2 separate regions of the Homo sapiens genome follow, and region 1 is linked to region 2. The links are contacts of gene promoters, found by promoter capture Hi-C in human tissues and cell types (Jung and others, 2019). All regions are on one chromosome and are shown on one strand. The core of a region is centred on a gene start or on the middle of the fragment in contact, and the rest is flanking DNA. Distances in the headings are between cores, read along the strand shown.

Evidence for each region. The method cuts DNA at HindIII sites, captures the fragments that hold promoters and counts their contacts. A contact is called where the count stands out against the background at its distance.
Region 1: a contact is called between a fragment that was not itself captured here and the fragment with the promoter of MKNK2 in region 2, in 1 of the 25 tissues and cell types used here (dorsolateral prefrontal cortex).

The regions. Positions count from the first base shown.
Region 1 is chr19:2,255,962-2,259,184 of GRCh38, reverse strand. It overlaps JSRP1 (junctional sarcoplasmic reticulum protein 1), which reads left to right and starts at 2,768. Exons shown (of 7, transcript NM_144616.4): 1 at 2,768-2,802. RefSeq lists an enhancer at 3,014-3,093. The HindIII fragment of the contact is 6,525 bases long and covers 1-3,223 here.
Region 2 is chr19:2,048,882-2,052,493 of GRCh38, reverse strand. It overlaps MKNK2 (MAPK interacting serine/threonine kinase 2), which reads left to right and starts at 1,250. Exons shown (of 14, transcript NM_199054.3): 1 at 1,250-1,398; 2 at 1,547-1,693. The coding sequence starts at 1,643. RefSeq lists silencers at 1,076-1,615, 2,346-2,535 and enhancers at 2,106-2,165, 2,342-2,998. The HindIII fragment of the contact is 30,775 bases long and covers 1-3,612 here.

The sequences.
Region 1 (3,223 bases), core at 412-2,911, 210 kb before region 2:
CCCGCCACCACGCCCGGCTGATTTTTTGTATTTTTAGTAGAGACGGGGTTTCACCGTGTTAGCCAGGATGGTCTCGATCTCCTGACCTCGTGATCCACCCACCTTGGCCTCCCAAAGTGCTGGGATTACAGGCATGAGCCACTGTACCCGGCCCTGTCCTGGACATTTCATAGAAATGGGATCACATACAGCATGGCCTTCTGTGTCTGGCACCTCTCACCGAGCGTGACATCCTTAAAGTGCATTCACGCCATGGCCGCAGTCAGAGCCTCGTTCCTGTTCACGGCTGTGTCGTACTTCACCGTGTGGAAGGGCCACGCTGTGTTGATCCGTGTATCTGAGGATGGAACGCTAGAGCTGCCTACACCATGTGGCTGCGGAGAATCGTGCTGCCCTGAACTTGGGTGTGCAAATATCTGAGTCCAAGCTTCGGATTCCTTTTCGTAGATACCTAGGAGTAGAGTTTCTGCATCTTATGGTCATTCTATTTTAGCTTTTTGAGGAACTGCCAAGCTGTAATATACTTTTAGGAGGGGCCAAGCACTGTGGCTCACGCCTGTAATCCCAACACTTCAGGAGGCCAGAGTGGGCAGATCGCCTGAGGTCAGGAGTTTGAGACCAGCCTGATTAACATGGTGAAACCCCATCTCTGCTAAAAATATGAAAATTAGCCAGGCGCAGTGGTGCATGCCTGTAATCCTAGGTCCTCGGGAGGCTGAGGCAGGAGAATCGCTTGAACCCAGGAGGCAGAGGTTGCAGTGAGCCGAGATCGCGCCATTGCACTCCAGCCTGGGTGACAGAGAGAGACTCCATCTCAACAACAACAAAAAAACTTTTAGGAAGAAAAAATAAATCTAGGTTACAAACAAGATGTTCAGCCCTTCGCTAATTATGCCAGCTTTATAAAAATAAATATGGAACTAATAATAAAATCACAAGTTACAAACAGCGGAAAGAACATGTCAAACTATTAAACAGTGTCTGTTTGGGGGCGGGAAGATGACAGGTGCTTTACAGTTTTTGCTTTCAGCTTCTCTTTGTTTCCTGTTTGTCTCTGCCTTGTGTCATACAGAAAAAAATGAGAGCCATTTCTTTTTTTTTTTCTTTTTGAGACAGAGTCTCGCTCTGTCGCCCAGGCTGGAGTGCAGTGGTGCCATCTCGGCTCACTGCAAACTCTGCCTCCCGGGTTCACGCCATTCTCCTGCCTCAGCCTCCCGAGTAGCTGGGACTACAGGCGCCCGCCACGACACTCAGCTAATTTTTTGTATTTTTAGTAGAGACGGGGTTTCACCGTGTTAGCCAGGAGGGTCTCAATCTCCTGACCTTGTGATCCACCTGCCTTGGCCTCCCAAAGTGCTGGGATTACAGGCGTGAGCCACCGCGCCCGGCCGAGAGCCGTTTCTAAAGCGGAGGGAGTGGGGACCAGGGAACCCCAGCCCTTGCTTTGCTGAAGGCGGGCTGGCCTTCTGGGTCTCTTGGTAGTTCCTGGGGAGGCCCTATTCACTCAGAATTATTATTATTATTTGAGACAGAGTCTCACTCTGTCGCCCAGGCTGGAGTGCAATGATGTGATCTCGGCTCACTGCAACCTCCACCTCCCGGGTTCAAGCAATTCTCCTGCCTCAGCCTCCCCAGTAGCTGGGATTACAGGCATCCACTATCACGCCTCACTAATTTTTGTATTTTTAATAGAGACAAGATTTCACCATGTTGGCCAGGCTGGTGTCAAACTCCCGACCTCAGGCGATCCGCCCGCCTCAGCCTCCCACAGTGCTGGGATTACAGGCGTGAGCCACCGCGCCCGGCCATTCACTCAGGATTTTTAACACACAGGCCTCACCACCAAAATCCACTTCCCCTCTTCCCTCAGGACTCCCAGAGTCACCATGCTTTGCAGGTAGGGCTCAAACATCTGCCTGCAGGCCTTAGAATGTGCCTTTGGGGGCTGAGAGACCCCGGGTCCTCTCCAGAGCAGAGGCGTCAGGTTTCTCTGCATGACGGTGTGGGAGCAGGCAGTTCCGAGTGTATGAGCCTGCCAGAGCCACAGAAACAAATGACCCCAAATACAGTGGCTTTAAACAGCAGGAATGAATGCATTGCAGGGGCTCCCGCCTGGGATCCCAGCACTTTGGGTGGCCAAGGCGAGCGGATCACATGGATTACTTGCGGTCAGGAGTTCGAGAGCAGCCTGGCCAACATAGGGAAACCCTGTCTCTACTGAAAAAAAAATACAAAAATTAGTCCGGGTGCAGTGGCTCACGCCTGTAATTCCAGCAATTTGGGAGGCCAAGGTGGGCGGATTCCGAGGTCAGGAGACCGAGACCATCCTGGCTAACACGGTGAAACCCCATCTCTACTAAAAATACAAAAAAAATTAGCCGGGCGCGGTGGCGGGCGCCTGTAGTCCCAGCTACTCGGGAGGCTGAGGCACGGGAATGGCGTGAACCCGGGAGGCGGAGCTTGCAGTGAGTGGAGATCGCGCCACCGCACTCCAGCCTGGGAGACAGAGCGAGACTCCGTCTCAAAAAAAATTGAAAACTTACCGGGTGTGATGGTGCGCGCCTGTAGTCCCAGCTGCAGGCGCTACGTCTCCCTGGGTGGCAGTGGCGAGTGCTGAGTAGGAGCAATGCCCTGCCCTGCTGCAATGGCAGGGAAGGGTGGGGGACTCCCCGGCTGTGACCTCACTCCAGCGGGCATGCTGATTGGCCCACCCGCGGTCTCTGGCCACCTGTTGCCGTCCATCACGGGGCCACCCTCCCCATCCTCCGTCCTGTCCACAAGGCTCAGCAAAGCGGCTGGCGGGTAAGCGAGGCTCGGGGGTAAGGAAGTGAGGCTGGGGGAATCCCGGGCAGAGGTGTGGGCTCCCGGGGTGTGAAGGGGTGTTGCAGAGGACTGTAAGGGTCCCCAATTCCTGGAGCTGCCCCCATGCACACCCAGGGGCCACACACCAGCCTCCCATGCTTCTTGGGCCCCTCCCCCACTGCCACGCAATAGGCCCCTTCCAGGTCTTGGAGCCCCAGGGCTGGGTGGTTTTTCAGCCTAGATACAGGGACACCCTAATCCCAGCAGCCAGAGGCCATGGGGACCCTGAAGAGTACAGCTTTGGGTCTGACTTGAAGCTCCTTGCGACCTCCAGCCAATGGCACTGTCTCTAGCCTCGGTTTCCTCATCTGTCCTATGGGAACAGAGTTAGTGGGACAAGGCAGGGTACTCTGTGTCAGGA
Region 2 (3,612 bases), core at 1-2,500:
TGTTTGTGCGTGTATGTGTTCACACGCACACACACGCACCCACATGCACAATAAGGGGGGCTGGGGGACCTGGTTTTCTGTCCCCCCATTGCCAAGAGTCAGGGCAATGCCAGGTGCTGGGCTGGGTTCTGGCTGGGAATTCCCCACAGGCTTCCCCCCAATGCCCCGGGGGTGGCTGAGGCCAGGCCTCCCAGCCCCTGTGGCCTGAGAGCTGTGGCCTTGCAGGCAGGGGCCCTCCAGCTTCAGGTCAGTGGGGCTCCAGCCCCTCTTGAGCTCAGGGCCTGGTTGGGGGATGGTGGGATGGGCTGTGCGAAGCTTCTGGAAACCCCTGCAGAAGAGGAGACCACAGTCCACCCAGCAGGGGAACCCCCACTCCTTGTGTGCCCCAGGCCCGGGGCCTGGGGAGCACTTTGAACCAGGATGCTGTGGGATGGGGGACTGGCAGCTCAGGACAGGCTGATTCTATCTAAGCCTGGTTTGGGGCCCCAGCCAAAATGGGACTGTGTTTTACTTCCTGTCCTGGCGACCATCCACCCCTTGGGCTCTTTCCCAGTGGGTCTCAGGTCCCAGTTCTCCCTGAAATGCTATTCGAGGACAGAGGAAGGGTCCTTCACAGACCTCGGTCCCCACCCTCTACTCTGGTTCCTGCCAACCACAAAGCAAACTCGGGGAGCTCAGTGCTCCCCAGGCAGGGTGGCCCAGGGGAAGAAGAAAGTAGGTGGCGGTGGCTGGTCCCCCAGCACTAGAAGGGAGTGGCTGGGACTCCAAGCGTGCTGGTGGTGCACGAGGGGGACTGCTGGAGCCAGCACTGGAGAACTGCAAGAGGGAGCCATGGCAGGTTCTAGAGCGAGGGCATGAACCAAGGGAGTCGGGGTATACTAGGCCTGGGTTGACAGGCCAAGGGAGTTGCCCTGTGTGGGGCCAGGCGGTAGGACACGGCCCAGGGCCTCGCAGGTCCCACGGGCCCCGCGAGCCTCAGGCGGCAAAAACAGGCCAGCTCCGGGCGCGCCGCAGGGTCGCTGCCTAGGTTCCGCACCGAGACCCCCGTGCGCCGCACTGCGCAGGCGTGCGCTAGCCGTTTCGGACACGCCCCACCGCCGGAGCGCGCAGCCGCACTGGGTTCCCGGAGAGCGCCCTCTTCTGGCTCCGCCCACGTCGTGCGCAGGGGGTGAGGCCGGGCGGAGCCTGCGTCGGGGGCGGGGCCAGAGCAGGTCCGGGCCTATAAAGGTGGCGGCGGCGGCGACGCGCCCGGCTCCTCTCAGCGGCGGTGGCCCAGGTAGAGGGGTCCGCGCTGGCGGCGGCGGCGGCGCTGTTCCCCGCGCGGTCCGCGGAGCGGGGTCCGGGCTGCGCGACGTGGGGCGGCGGCGGCACTGCGGCCCCGGCCCAAGCCCGACCCCGGTGAGTGCGAACCCCAGGGCGGCCCCGAGGACACCGACCCGGTAGCGGGAAACGGGCCCCGCGGAGCCCTCGCCGCCCCCGCCCGGTCCGCGCTCCTGGCAGGCCGGGCTCCGCTCACCGCCCTCCCTTTGTCTGCTCCCGCCCGCAGGGTCCCCTCCTCGGCCGCCCCCCGCCCGGCCGCCCGCCCTCGGGCCTCCCCCCGGGCCCTCGGTCCCCTCCCCCGCTGGCGGGGCCCGGACAGAAGATGGTGCAGAAGAAACCAGCCGAACTTCAGGGTTTCCACCGTTCGTTCAAGGTGAGGCCCGGGGTCGGTTTGGGGGCGCTCCGGGCTGGACCACCGGAATGGCCGGCGTGGGGGGCGCGGGGCCCGCCCCTAAGATCGGCTCCCGGGGCTCGTGCCTGGCCCCCGCCCTACACCCGGGGCTGCCCGGGCCGGCCGTGCGCTGAAGCGGGGTCGGTGTGCGAGGATGGGGGTTCAGCAGGCCACAGTCCTCTCTCCAGCCATGGCCGCCGGGTCCTTCCTCCAGGACCCCCAAGTGAGGCTGGGAGCAGGAGCCCCCTCCGGGTCAGGGCACCAGGCTGTGTGTCCCCTGCAAGCCCCCGCCGGGTATGTTCTGGGGGGTCAGCAGGCTGCAGTCCTGTCCCAGTCGCTGCATGTGGCTTATGGGGGGTGTCCCCTGCAAGCTCCAGCTGGTTGTGCCCTGGTGGGGACGGGTCAGCGGGCCACAGTCCCATTCCCACCTCCATGTGGCTTCTGGGGACTTTCTTTCAGAATCCCCAGGCCGGGCTGGTCAGGTGCACCCACCCCCAGGGGGCCTGTGCCGTGGGGGAGGGGATGGGATGTCCCCTCAGCCCTGCACTTCGCAGACACCCCAGGCCCAAGTGCTGTTTCCTGTCGGAGCGGGAAGTTTCTGCGCAGCCCGGGTGGTGACTGCTGTTGAGTGCTGGTTTCAGATGAGCAAATCTTGGGGGGGAAGGGGAGGGCAGGTGCTGGGCAGGGGCCCCGCAGGACCTGGCCCAGGGGACGCAGTGATGTCAGCCGGCCCGCCCCACCCCTCAGGCCGGGGTTATGTAATCGCTTCACTGGGCTTCCTTGGGCAGGGACCTGTTGCCCGGTAGGGAAGGCAGGACTGGAGAGAGGAAGAGAGAGTGTGAGTGTATGTGTGTGTGTTTGTGTGTGTGTGTGTCTCTGTCTTGTGTGTACACACAACGCGGTGCTCCAGGGTGGGAGGAGCAAAGAGAGACTGGGAAGAATTCCCAGGTCTGTCCAGCCAGTGCCCCAGGGCAGCACTCCACCCCTGCCACCCCTGCCCAGTTTTCCCCTAGGGCAGCAGGCCTGGCACCATCAGAGTGTCAGGGGCTGGGCGGGAAAGAGGAGGACCTGACAGTGGTCTTCTCCCTCCTAGGGCCAGGCATGAGCTGATACAGAGTCAGTGCATGGGGCCAGCCAGGCAGCTAAAGCACACTTGAACTTTCTAGATGGTTCCAGCCACCTCCTGCCAAGGCCTGCTGACTCGAGTCCCACAGCCAGACCTAGAACAGTGGGACCAGGACCGCCCACACTGCCCAGGATTGTGGGCCGGCCTCTGTGCATGGCCAGGGCAGCCTGGCTGGGAGCTGGGAAGGTGGGCGTCTTGGTGGAGGAGGGCCTGGCAGGCAGTCCTGGCTGTGAGGTGTTCCTCCAGGTGGCCGGGACCGGTTGCTCTAGGAATCTCCCCCCACAGCCCCCACCATGCACGGCTGCTCCCTGGATTGGGGCCACCTCTCCTGAAATACTCTCCTTGCCTCCAGCAGGCAGCAGCCCAGCAGGGAGGCACGTCTGTGGGTGCCTTGGGTTTCTTTCCGTTCGCAGATGGGAAAGTGAGGCTCTGAGACTGCAGGCGCGTGTGCCTGGGGCTCCCCTGTACACGGGCGAGGAGGCCGCGGAGTCTCGTGGTGCCTGGCCCCTCCGCTGTGGTGGCTGCGGCCGTCCATCTGTAGCTTTGCTGAGTTGGAGGCTGTGGCTGGCACAGGGGAACGGTGGCCAGACAGGGCCAGGAGCTCACGCTGGGCTCTGTGGCCCCTTAGGTCATTTCACTCTCGTGAGCTCCCACGAGTTGGGGGCAGCTGCCTCCCGTCTCACCGCTGACAGACCCCAGGGTGAGGTCACTAGGCCAAGGTCAGACAGCAGGTGAACTCCAGTCTGGCCTTAGACCCTGGTCACCTGCCTTGTGG